3 separate regions of the Homo sapiens genome follow, and all the other regions are linked to region 1. The links are contacts of gene promoters, found by promoter capture Hi-C in blood cells and fetal thymus (Javierre and others, 2016). All regions are on one chromosome and are shown on one strand. Each heading gives the region's core, a stretch centred on a gene start or on the middle of the fragment in contact. The rest is flanking DNA. Distances are from core to core; before and after follow the strand shown. Region 1 holds the start of ARF5 (ARF GTPase 5). Region 2 has its middle 29 kb from the start of MIR593. Region 3 has its middle 59 kb from the start of MIR593.

Region 1 (3,807 bases), core at 344-2,843:
AAGGTAGTGACAACAGAGATGGAAGCAAAGAGGCTGATAAAAGAGCTAAATGTAGAATTGACCTAACTTGGTGAACACTAGTTCTGTTATTATATTGGAACTCTCTAAAATGTACTCTTCAGCCTCGTAAAAGCCTTCTTAGGGATGCAAGTCTATGACTGAAGAGAAAAGGAAAGTCATTCACTCACTCATACCTGTTTCCCAAAGTCTGTCCTTGTTACAGACTTTGCAGATCAGGATGGGGCAGGCCCTGGAGGTCTGTTCAGACCCCGTTTCTCAGTGGCCCAAATAACATCAAGCTGTATTATACATAACATTCAGTCACATTATCAAATCATTTTAAGATTCACCATAACCCCTTAAGTTAGAACAAGTCTCATTTTATAGATGATGAAATAACGGAAGAGTTATGAGGAGTGCTGAAGCCAAATCCTCAAGAAATGGCAGAATTAAGATTTGAACTAAAGCCTGAAATCACGTGCTGGCAAGTGGTGGGTGCTCAGTAAATATCTGCTGAAAAAGCAAATGAATGAGTGAAGGTTTTTTTATTCCCAGCTCAGTTTACCTCGAGTCCATAAACAATTGATCCTAGAAGCCCACTGGGAATCCAGAGTAGACATAACACCTACCCTCGCTCCATTGAGAATCTATCAGTCCAGTTCAACTGAACAAGCATTTGTTAGGCCTAATAATGCCTGGCAATGAGCCAGTCTCCACCGCAGAAGAATTTCATTCCTATTTTGCTATTCTCCTCTCAGATGTTAAAATGAGGCAGGGAAATGACATGTGAAGCTCTTTGGGTCTACGGAGTCAAGATCTTCACAAAATCCTGAATGGATGTGCAAGAATAAGCCAGGTCCACAAGTCTGTGGCAAAGTGAGGAACTTCGGCAAAGCGGCCAGCGCCTGGACTGAGAGGCGGGGCCCGCAGGGCGATCCAAACGAAGGTGGACTTCTCCAACAGCCCAGGAGTGGGTCTGTGACCCCGCCGCCCAAGGCCGGGAATCTTACACTGGTTCTGCGGATTGGGAATTAGGAAGTAGGCGTTTTGAGGAACCATGGAAGCTAGCTAGCACTCGGGCACCTTCCCCTACCTCCCGCGCACTCTTCACACGACCACCTACTACGCGCAAGTCCCTCGGTGGAAGATGAGGCAGTAAAGGGAGGACCAAGACCCCTAATCGCAGCTTCCACTCCCCAAAGGAGAGTGGTGCACACGTTCAGTGCTACTGGTTCCCAAGGGCTAAAACCGGAGCCCCTAGGGGCCTGGACGCAACAAACCAAAGCCCAGCGGCCGGCCACTGAAAATGGGGGCAGGGGCCGCTGCGGAGCGATGAATCCTTTCCTCAGCCGCGCTCGGGCTGCCGGTTCGGCGGCCACAGGCCTGGCAGGCGCGTTAGAGACCTAGACCCGTTCCCAAGTAAGGGCCGCACGGGACCCAGGCCAGCAGCGGCAACTCGCGGAGCTTCAGCTCCCCTAGGAGCCAGAGCCGGGGGAGGCGGGGCCGAGAGCCGGGGGCGGGGCCCGGACGGGGGCGGGCCCGCGGTGACGTCGGGAGGGCAGCGACGCGCGGAGGCGGCGGCGGAGCCTCCTCCTGCTGCTGCTGCGCCCCATCCCCCCGCGGCCGGCCAGTTCCAGCCCGCACCCCGCGTCGGTGCCCGCGCCCCTCCCCGGGCCCCGCCATGGGCCTCACCGTGTCCGCGCTCTTTTCGCGGATCTTCGGGAAGAAGCAGATGCGGATTCTCATGGGTGAGGCAGATCGAGCGCGCGGCCCGGACCGGGGCGCCGGCCCCGGCGCAGCCCTTCCGCCCCCGCGTCCCTCCAGCCCCGCTCACCTGGGTCTCTGGCCCCGAGTCACCCACCTCATAACGCCCCGGGGCCTCTGCTCTCGGGCGGGTCCCGGTCTGCATCGCCGACCCCGGGGCCTGACACCCGGAGCTGCGGGCCTGGGTGGGGTGAAGCTCCCTCCGCCCCAGCCCGGCTGGTAAGAAGGGAGGATTCCGCCCTTGGAGACGACTTTTAAAACGAGCGCGGCCTACCTCCCGTGCCCCTTGCCTCCCAGTCCTCTCCCGCTCCGCGCCCTCTTTGGAGTTGGCTCACGCCACCCGACTGCCCTCCAGGCCTCAAAGGTAGATAACGACGCGCACCTGGAGGCGCTCCCGCTCTCCGCCCCAGTCACCATCAGCTGTTGTGGCCTCTCCCTTTCCCTGGTCTCTAGGGGGCTCCCTCGCTCCCATCTCCATCCCTGTGCCCCTTTCCGTTGCAGTTGGCTTGGATGCGGCTGGCAAGACCACAATCCTGTACAAACTGAAGTTGGGGGAGATTGTCACCACCATCCCAACCATAGGTGAGCCCGGGGACGAAGCAGGGAGCGGGAGCGCCGCGGCGGGCCCTCGCGGGGTCTGCTCCCAGTTCTGCCACTTTTCTGGAGCTGACCCTGACACCAGATACAGCTATTTGAGAAGTGGGTCAGGGTATCTCTACGTGGATACCGGAGGCAGGGTGGATGTGACCTAGCCCCGCCCTGTTGACCGCCAGTTCTGGGGTTCTGTTCCCCTGGGCCTTGATCATTGCCTTCTGGTTTTGTGTCCCTGCTGAAATCTAAGTAGTTTTAGTGAGTTCCTTTCTTTCAGGAGTTTTCTCATCTTTTTTTTCCAATTATCTGCAGGCTTCAATGTAGAAACAGTGGAATATAAGAACATCTGTTTCACAGTCTGGGACGTGGGAGGCCAGGACAAGATTCGGCCTCTGTGGCGGCACTACTTCCAGAACACTCAGGTGGAGTGTTGGGAGGGGACTTTCTAACCCCACGGGAAAAGGTGTTAGGGCTGGGAGAACAGAATTGTTGGCCTAGGCTGGGCCCCCAGGCCAAGGAAAAAACCCTTCCCCACTTCTACCCCTTCTGTTTGGCTATCCCCTACTCACTCTTCAGAACTCACCTTAGTCTTCCCCAGCTTGGACTTCTCTTTAGAAGCAGGATTCTGGGACCAGGCTGCCTGATTTAGCCCTCATAACATGTCTTTATTTCCTTGCACATCTTTGGATAAACTACTTCCTCTTTGCAGTGGGGTCTCTAGTTTGTGCCATGACTCCTGTAGAGCTTCTATAGAGTTCTGTAAACTTCTGTAGAGTTTACTAGATGAGAAGGATTGACACAATTACAAATGGGAAGAAAACAGAAAGGGCCACACTACGGTATGTCCCAGGCAGAAGTGATTGCTTCTCCTTTCTTCCTTCCTTCCTGCCCAGGGCCTCATCTTTGTGGTGGACAGTAATGACCGGGAGCGGGTCCAAGAATCTGCTGATGAACTCCAGAAGATGGTGAGTACCCAGAGCCCTGGGAACTGAGCCCTCAGCTTGGGGACAGAGTGATCTCTGTAGTGGTATAGAAGTCAGGGAGCCCCCAACAGGCATTGAAGACCAGGAATATAAGTTTTTCTTTGTGGACAGACACATTGTGTATCTCACCCTGTTTTGGATGGGAGTGACTTTTTCACTTTTTCTGTGCATTGTCTTGTCTTTTTTTTTTTTTGAAATGGGAGTTTTGCTGTTGTTGCCCAGGCTGGAGTGCAATGGTGCAATCTCGGCTCACTGCAACCTCCGTCTCCCGGGTTCAAGCAATTCTCCTGCCTCAGCCTCCCAAGTAGCTGGGATTACAGGCGCCCGCTGCCATGCCCAGTTAATTTTTGTATTTTTAGTAGAGACGGGGTTTCACCATGTTGGCCAGGCTGGTCTTGAACCCCCAACCTCAGGTGATCCACCCGTCTTGGTCTCCCAAAGTGCTGGGATTACAGGAGTGAGCCACTGC
Region 2 (3,439 bases), core at 118-2,617, 520 kb after region 1:
ACAAAGGCCTGTGTCCCAACAAGTGTAGGGCAAAGGGCAGCCTGGGCCACTTGGAGGTGACCCAGCAGCAGCTGTGTATATGTGGTCAACATACGCGACACATCCAGAGCTCTGACAAAGCCCCTCAATCCAAAAATATGTCTCGCTGCCAGCATCAGGGGTTCCTTTCTTTGAGCTAAAGCCTCTTCTGTATCGGGGGAACCCGCCCCCAGTATTTCAACGTAGGCTCTTTCTATTTTCCATAAGTGTCAGCCAGCTGAGAAATAAGGAGAGAGTACAAAGAGAGGAATTTTGCAGCTGGGCCGCCGGGGGCGACATCACATATCGGTAGGACCGTGATGCCCACCTGAACCTCAAACCAGCAAGTTTTTTATTAAGGGTTTCAAAAGGGGAGGGTGTCTAAGAACAGGGAGTAGATCACATGCTTCAAAGGGCAAAAAGGAGAACCACTGATAAGGGTCTGTCTTCAGCAGTGCACATATTGTCTTGATAAACATCTTAAACAACAGAAAACAGGGTTCGAGAGCAGAGAGCTGGTCTGACCACAGATTTACCAGGGCCCGGTTTTTCCCCACCCTAGTAAGCCTGAGGGTACTGCAGGAGACCAGGGCATATCTCAGTCCTTATCTCAACCACATAGGATAGACGTCCCCAGAGCGGCTGTTTATAGACTCCCCCCAGGAATGCATTCCTTCCCCAGGGTATTAATATTAATATTCCTTGCTAGGAAAAGAATTTAGTGATATCTTCCCTACTTGCATGTCCATTTATAGGCTCTCTGCAAGAAGAAAAATATGGCTCTTTTTGCCCTACCCCTCAGGCAGTCAGACCTTATGGATGTCTTCCCTTGTTCCCTAAAATCGCTGTTATTCTGTTCATTTTCAAGGTGCACTGATTTCATATTGTTCAAACACACATGTTTTACAATCAATTTGTACAATTAACACAATTATCACAGTGGTCCTGAGGTGACGTACATACTCAGCCTATGAAAGTAACAGGATTAAGAGATTAAAGTAAAGACAGGCATAAGAAATTATAAAAGCATTATTTGGGAACTGATAAATGTCCATGAAATCTTCACAATTTATGTTCCTCTGCCACGGCTCCAGCCAGTCATTCCATTCGGGGTCCCTGAGTTCCTGCAACACTTCTGCACAGAAATGCAAAATACACACACACACACCCCACCCCGCCCCTAGGACTCATTTTGTTAGCGATCATTAACAGTTTCAGCCATTAGCTCTCAAGTTGGTTTGAATTTGTTGGTAGGATTAGCTCCCTATCACCTGAAAAGCTGAGAAAAGAAGGCCTAAGGGAATGAGACACATGTCTGAGAAGAGACAGAAAGAGAGAATGTGTGTGTGTGTGTGTGTGTGTGTGTGTGGCAACTACTGAAGGTGGGTAGGATGCTAGGGGCCTGGGTTCCCCAGGGAAGGCCCTGGGTTTGAAAAGAGCCCCAAATGAAGCCAGGATTGCTGAAGACAAGCATGTGAGTTTGCCAAGAGCTGCCCAGGGGTCTGAGGTGTCAGTCCACCCCTCTGCTCCCCACTCAGGTAGGGGCAGGTCCGGAGCTGCAGCATGACAGGGAATTTCAGGCCCGGAGGTCTTCCCACTTGTCACCTCTGTTTCTTCTTCTCTGCCCAGGTGGTGCACATTCTGAAAGGCTCAGATTTCTTTCATTCAACCTCCTTTCTTCCTATTTTTTCTTATTGTCTGGCTCTTTCCTGCAGAAGGAAGGAGAAGAACTGGGTGTAAACCTTGACTCTGAGCTGAGGGCTCAGATGCTGGCTGAACTTCTCATTTGCACCAGGTGTAGGAGGGAAGTGGGCAGCCCAGCACAGAAGCAGCTCTCTGGCAAACAGCTTCCTCTGTAGGCCTCATGCCCTCCAACTGCAGTGCCCTCTGACCTTGTCACACTGCAGGTAGGGGACAGAACTAAGGAGCATCTGCACAAGCACCTGGCTGTAGTGAACTGAATAGTGTTCCCCCAAAAGATATGTCCAAGTCCAGACCCCTAGTACCTGTGCATGTGACCTTACTTGGAAATAGGGTCTTTGCAAATATAATTAAGATAGTACTTGTCTTAGTCCATTCAAGCTGCTAAAAGAAAAAAATATCACAAACTGGGTGGCTTATAAACAACAGAATGTATTGCTCATAGTTCTGGAGGCTGGGAAGTCCAAGATCAAGGTGCTGGCAGGTTCAGTGTCTGGTGTGGATTTGGATTTGCTCTCTACTTCACAGATGGCACTGTTGTGCTGTGTCTTTACATGGTAGAATGGGATAGTTAGCTCCCTGGGGGTTCCTTTTTTTTTTTCTGAGTCAGTGTCTCATTGTGTTGCCCAGGCTGGAGTGGCCCAGTCTTGGCTCACTGCAACCTCTGCCTCCCAGGTTCAAGCAATTCTGCCTCCGAAGTCTCCCAAGTAGCTGCCTCTAGTCTCCCGAGTAGCTGAGGCTACAGGCATGCACCACCATGCCTGGATAATTTTTGTATTTTTTTAGTGAAGACAGAGTTTTGCCATGTTGGCCAGGCTGGTCTTGAACTCTTGACCTCAGGTGATCTGCCTGCCTTGGCCTCCCAAAGTGCTGGAATTACAGGCATAAGTCTATGCACCTGGCGTCTGGGGTCCCTTTTATAAGAGCATTAATGCCATGAGGACAGAGCCCTCACGAACTCATCATCTCCCAAAGGCCCCACCTTCTAACACTGTCACACGAAGGATCCAGTTTCAATGTATGAATTGTATAGAAAACATTCAGACCACAGTCATAAGAATTTCAAGATGAGATCCAGGGTGGGCCCTAAATTCAGCGACTGCTGTCCTTACAGGGGAAAGGAAAGGGCGACGTGAGACACAGGGGAGAAGACTGTCTGAGGAAGGCAGGCAGAGCCGCAGAGATTTAGAGTTATGCAACCCCAGCCAAGAAACACCACAAGCCACCAAAAATTAGAAGAGGTAAGCAATTCTTCCCTAGAGCTTTCCCATAAAGAGAACATGGCCCTGCTGATTTTGCAGAAAAGAGAAACTGAGGCACCAAACTACATCAGCACTCCCTGGGCATGGAAGGCTGGGCGCACAGCAGCACCAGCCAGGGCAGAGACGGTGCTGGAAGTCGATGCCCTGCCTCCCAGCTGAAGCCTTCCTACCGCCTCCCTCGGGTGCTTCCTTTCACTCAGCCCCTTCAGAGCCAGAAGGCGTGGCCCACAGCAGTGTAGGAGTGCCCACGGCCCCGGGACCCCTGGCTGTAACCACACCCTCAGCTGCACCCTCAGGAGACCTTGCCTCCTGCTCCCTCTCCAGCGGCAGCGAGGGCAGTGCCAAGCTCACACCCTCCCAGAAGTGATTTCATGCCCCATAAGACGGGCAATCAAAAATAATAGACACACAGCAACCTGCCTGGGGCCTGCTGCTGCGGCGGGCGGCTGCTGAGGTGG
Region 3 (3,626 bases), core at 111-2,610, 550 kb after region 1:
TGTCGCCCATGTTGGAGTACAGTGGCATGATCATGGCTCACTGCAGCCTTGGCCTCCCAGATTCAAGCGATCCTCCCACCTCAACCTCCTGAATAGCTAGGACTACAGGTGTGCACCACCATGATGGCTAATATAAAAAAAAAATTTTTTTGTAGAGACAGAGTCTCACCATGTTGCCCAGTTCACCATGTTGAACTCCTAAACTCAAGCCACCTGCCTGCCTCAGCCTCCCAAAGTGTTGAGATAATATGTGTGAGCCACTGACCCAGCCAATTACATTTTTAAATGATTTTAAATGTAGTAAAAATAAACCAAACAAACAAATACTGATATGATTTGGCTCTGTGTCCCCACTCAAATCTCATCTCGACTTGTAATCCCCAGGTGTGGAGGGAGCAACCTGGTGGGAGGTGACTGGATCATGGGGGCGGTTTCCCCCATGCTGTTCTCCTGATAGTGAGTGCACACAAGATCTGATGCTTTAAAAGTGTTTGGCAGTTCCCCCTCTTCTCTTTCTTTCTCTCCCTCCCTGCCTCCCTCCCTCCCTCTTTCCTTTCCCTTCTCCCTCTCTTCTACCACCTTCTGAAGAAGGTACTTGCTTCTCCTTTGCCTACCCTCATGATTGTAAGTTTCCTGAGGCATCCTCAGCAATGTGGAACTGTGAGTCAATTAAACCTCCTTTCTTTATAAATTACCCAGTCTCAGGTGGTATCTTTATAGCAGCATGGGAACAGACTAATACAAATACCATTTTCACATTTTGAGAAACTTAATTTACAGTTTGAAAAAAAATCAAATGAGATGTACAAAGTATTTATAACTGAGTAACAGTGAGAGTTTTACATATCAAAACTTATGGAATGCAGTTAAAGCAGTGCATGATGATAAATTTATCATCTTAAATAAATTTATTAAGGAACAAAACAAAATAATAACAATTGAGTTAAGCATTCACTGCAAAGAGCTGGAAAAAACCAACAATTAAAAAATAAATGGAAGGAAATAATAAAGACGTAGAGTAGAGATTAGTGAAATAGAAAACAATAGAAAAGATTAACAACATAAAATCAGGTTGAGGAATAAAAGTCATAAGTTATATTAAGAATGAAGAGGAGTATTAGTATTACTATGGATAAAGGTAAAACTAGAAACTCATCAAATTAGCCAAGCACATAACAGTCTAAAATTAAAAACTACCTTCCCCAGACTCCCTTGCAGCTAGGTGGGCTCCCATGAATCTGTTCTGGCCAGTGGGATGTAAATAGAAATGATGAGCCCTGGCACAGTGGCTCATGCCTGTAATCCCAGCACTTTGGGAGGCCGAGGCAGGCAGATCATGAGGTCAGGAGATCAAGACCATCCTGGCTAACATGGTGAAACCCCGTCTCTACTAAAAATACAAAAAATTAGCTGGGCGTGGTAGCGGGCGCCTGTAGTCCCAGCTACTTAGGAGGCTGAGGCAGGAGACTCCAGCCTGGGCAACAGAGCGAGACTCCGTCTCAAAAAAAGAAAAAAAAAAAAGAAATGATGTGTAAAACTTCTATGAAGTCCCATTATAAAGTCCTTAGGGGGATGGCAGGGGGATGCCCTTCCCTTTCCTTTTTCTCATTCCTGCATCCTGGAATGCAGACTTGCTGGCTAATGTTAGAGCAGCCATTTTGGACCATGAGATGTGAGCCTCATATTGAAGACAGAGGAGAAAGAATGGAGAGAGCCCAAGTCTCTAAGGATTTAGGAACTTGCACTCCAGCTTGGGACTGCTGATAGAAATAAACTTCAGCCCATTGTGGTAGTGCACACCTGTAGTCCCAGCTACTCAGCAACTGAGGCTGAGGCAAGATGATCACTTGAGCCCAGGAGCTCAAGGCTGTAGTACGCAGTGATTGTGCCTGCAAATAGCTAGTGCATCCCAGCCTGGGCAGCATGGCAAGACCCCATATCTATAAATAAATAAACTTCTAACTTGTTTAAACTGCTCTTTTGTGCTATTTTCTGTTGCTTATAATCAAAACATAAACTTGTGTAATGAAACTGGCAAAAAGGATCTATCAAAAAACTAGTGGCAAACACAGCATAGGAGTCCCTTTGGAATCATTCCTACAGAAATCAGAACCAAGACAAAAATTCCTGCTAGCACTTCTACTCAGAATTGCATGTGAGAGCCTATGCAAAATGACAAAAAGGAAAAAGAGCAAGAAAAGATGTAAGAATAGAAAGAAAGAAAACACTGTTGTTAGTTGCAGATGTAATGAATTTCCTACATAAAAAATGTAGGCTTTCAGGCAAAGACGGCAAATTGAACGCATGAATCTAATTTTTTTTCCTCCTGATATTCCACTAAAATTACAGCAAAGGGATTTTAAAATATAGACATAACTCTACAAGGACAAGAAAAACAGGAGAGAAGTTACGAGCAATAACATTTTAGAAACTGGGAAGCAGATGGGAAAGAAGTTGCTGACTTAGCAGGTCCAAGAATGCCATATCCCAAGCTGACAGTGGTTAAGTAGGACACCACCTGACCCAGCGGCATCCTCACAGCCTCTGCCACTGCTGGGATGGGGTGTGATGGATGGGGATAAATAGGGATAACTGATTGAAAGCTGTTTAGGAAGCAGTTAGACCCAGGATCTCAGCACTCTCCTAGTTTTACACTGCAAAGCAATGCCCTCTCCCACCCTGGCAGAAGCTGGGGGAAGTATTTTTCTGGACTGAGAAATCCAGTTATGGAGACTGTATCCAAGAAAGAGAGAATTATTAATATATGCTTCACGAACGCTGAAACTGTCTGGCGTTCTTTGCTATTAGGTTCCCAAAAAGAAAGACCTAAAAGTACTAACACTGGGCTCCACCAAACCATCCATCCGGATGGCTCGGCAAAGAAGCTCAGAGTTGACATTCCCACCCCACCTCCCACCCCTCCCATGGGCTCAGAGCTTTCAAACAGCATTGTGGCTTCTCGCTCTTGGTCATAAGCAGACAACCAAGGATTATCAACATCTGAAGAAAGCCTCTAACCTGAAAAATAGGGGCCAATAAAGAACAAGCTGGCAGAAACAGACTATAAAAGAAAGCTTTAAGAAATAAAAAGAGCTATCATACATATCTTCAAAGGCAAAAAGAGACATTTTGCATGCATGAAATGAGAACAGGATGCAGTCTGTTTCTTACCAGGAAGCTGGACTAGCATAACTTCTGGCTCCTTCTCTAGAGATCAATGCTAGAGAAACCAAGAAAGCTCTAAGGATCCCCTGAGAACTGTTGGAGTTGTTCTCTTGCTTCTTGGAGTTGTTCTCTGCTGTTACTTTGGGAGCTTAGTACCTGCTCTGTGCACAGCTGCTGTGACTCAGACCTTTGGTCCAGGGGTCATTGAGAGTAAAATTAGAAGCCCCATACTTGTGAGGAGCCGAGAAAAATATATAGGGAATAACCATCCTTGGGTAGTATCTTTCTTCCCCCTTATTCTACAACCTCCTAAGGCTGGTAAATTATAATCTAAGTTTCACCTCCTAATGCTGCTTTTTCTCTAGGGGAGAGGAACAAGGGTACGAAGAATGATGCCTTGACACAAGAAGTTGTTTTGTGGGTGAGAACTGAGATTTTTCTGATAACTAGGGCTTTTCACC

Evidence for each region. The method cuts DNA at HindIII sites, captures the fragments that hold promoters and counts their contacts. A CHiCAGO score of 5 or more calls a contact.
Region 2: a fragment that was not itself captured here is called in contact with the fragment with the promoter of ARF5 in region 1 in 2 of 17 cell types (neutrophils and M0 macrophages); the score reaches 5.4 in neutrophils.
Region 3: a fragment that was not itself captured here is called in contact with the fragment with the promoter of ARF5 in region 1 in 3 of 17 cell types (M2 macrophages, non-activated CD4 T cells and fetal thymus); the score reaches 5.9 in M2 macrophages.

The regions. Positions count from the first base shown.
Region 1 is chr7:127,586,818-127,590,624 of GRCh38, forward strand. ARF5 (ARF GTPase 5) reads left to right here and starts at 1,594. Exons shown (of 6, transcript NM_001662.4): 1 at 1,594-1,748; 2 at 2,266-2,346; 3 at 2,668-2,777; 4 at 3,249-3,320. The coding sequence starts at 1,682. LOC105375490 (a long non-coding RNA gene) reads right to left here and starts at 3,029. Exons shown (of 5, transcript XR_007060511.1): 1 at 2,939-3,029. It overlaps LOC105375489 (a long non-coding RNA gene), which reads right to left. Exons shown (of 3, transcript XR_007060513.1): 3 at 3,052-3,134. RefSeq lists enhancers at 415-1,041, 1,042-1,667, 1,668-2,294, 2,295-2,920 and a silencer at 1,431-1,920. The HindIII fragment of the contact is 7,240 bases long and covers 1-3,807 here.
Region 2 is chr7:128,109,318-128,112,756 of GRCh38, forward strand. No RefSeq gene overlaps it. Among named protein-coding and RNA genes, the nearest start is that of MIR593, 29 kb to the left of the region's middle. The HindIII fragment of the contact is 9,648 bases long and covers 1-3,439 here.
Region 3 is chr7:128,139,414-128,143,039 of GRCh38, forward strand. No RefSeq gene overlaps it. Among named protein-coding and RNA genes, the nearest start is that of MIR593, 59 kb to the left of the region's middle. The HindIII fragment of the contact is 3,424 bases long and covers 1-3,072 here.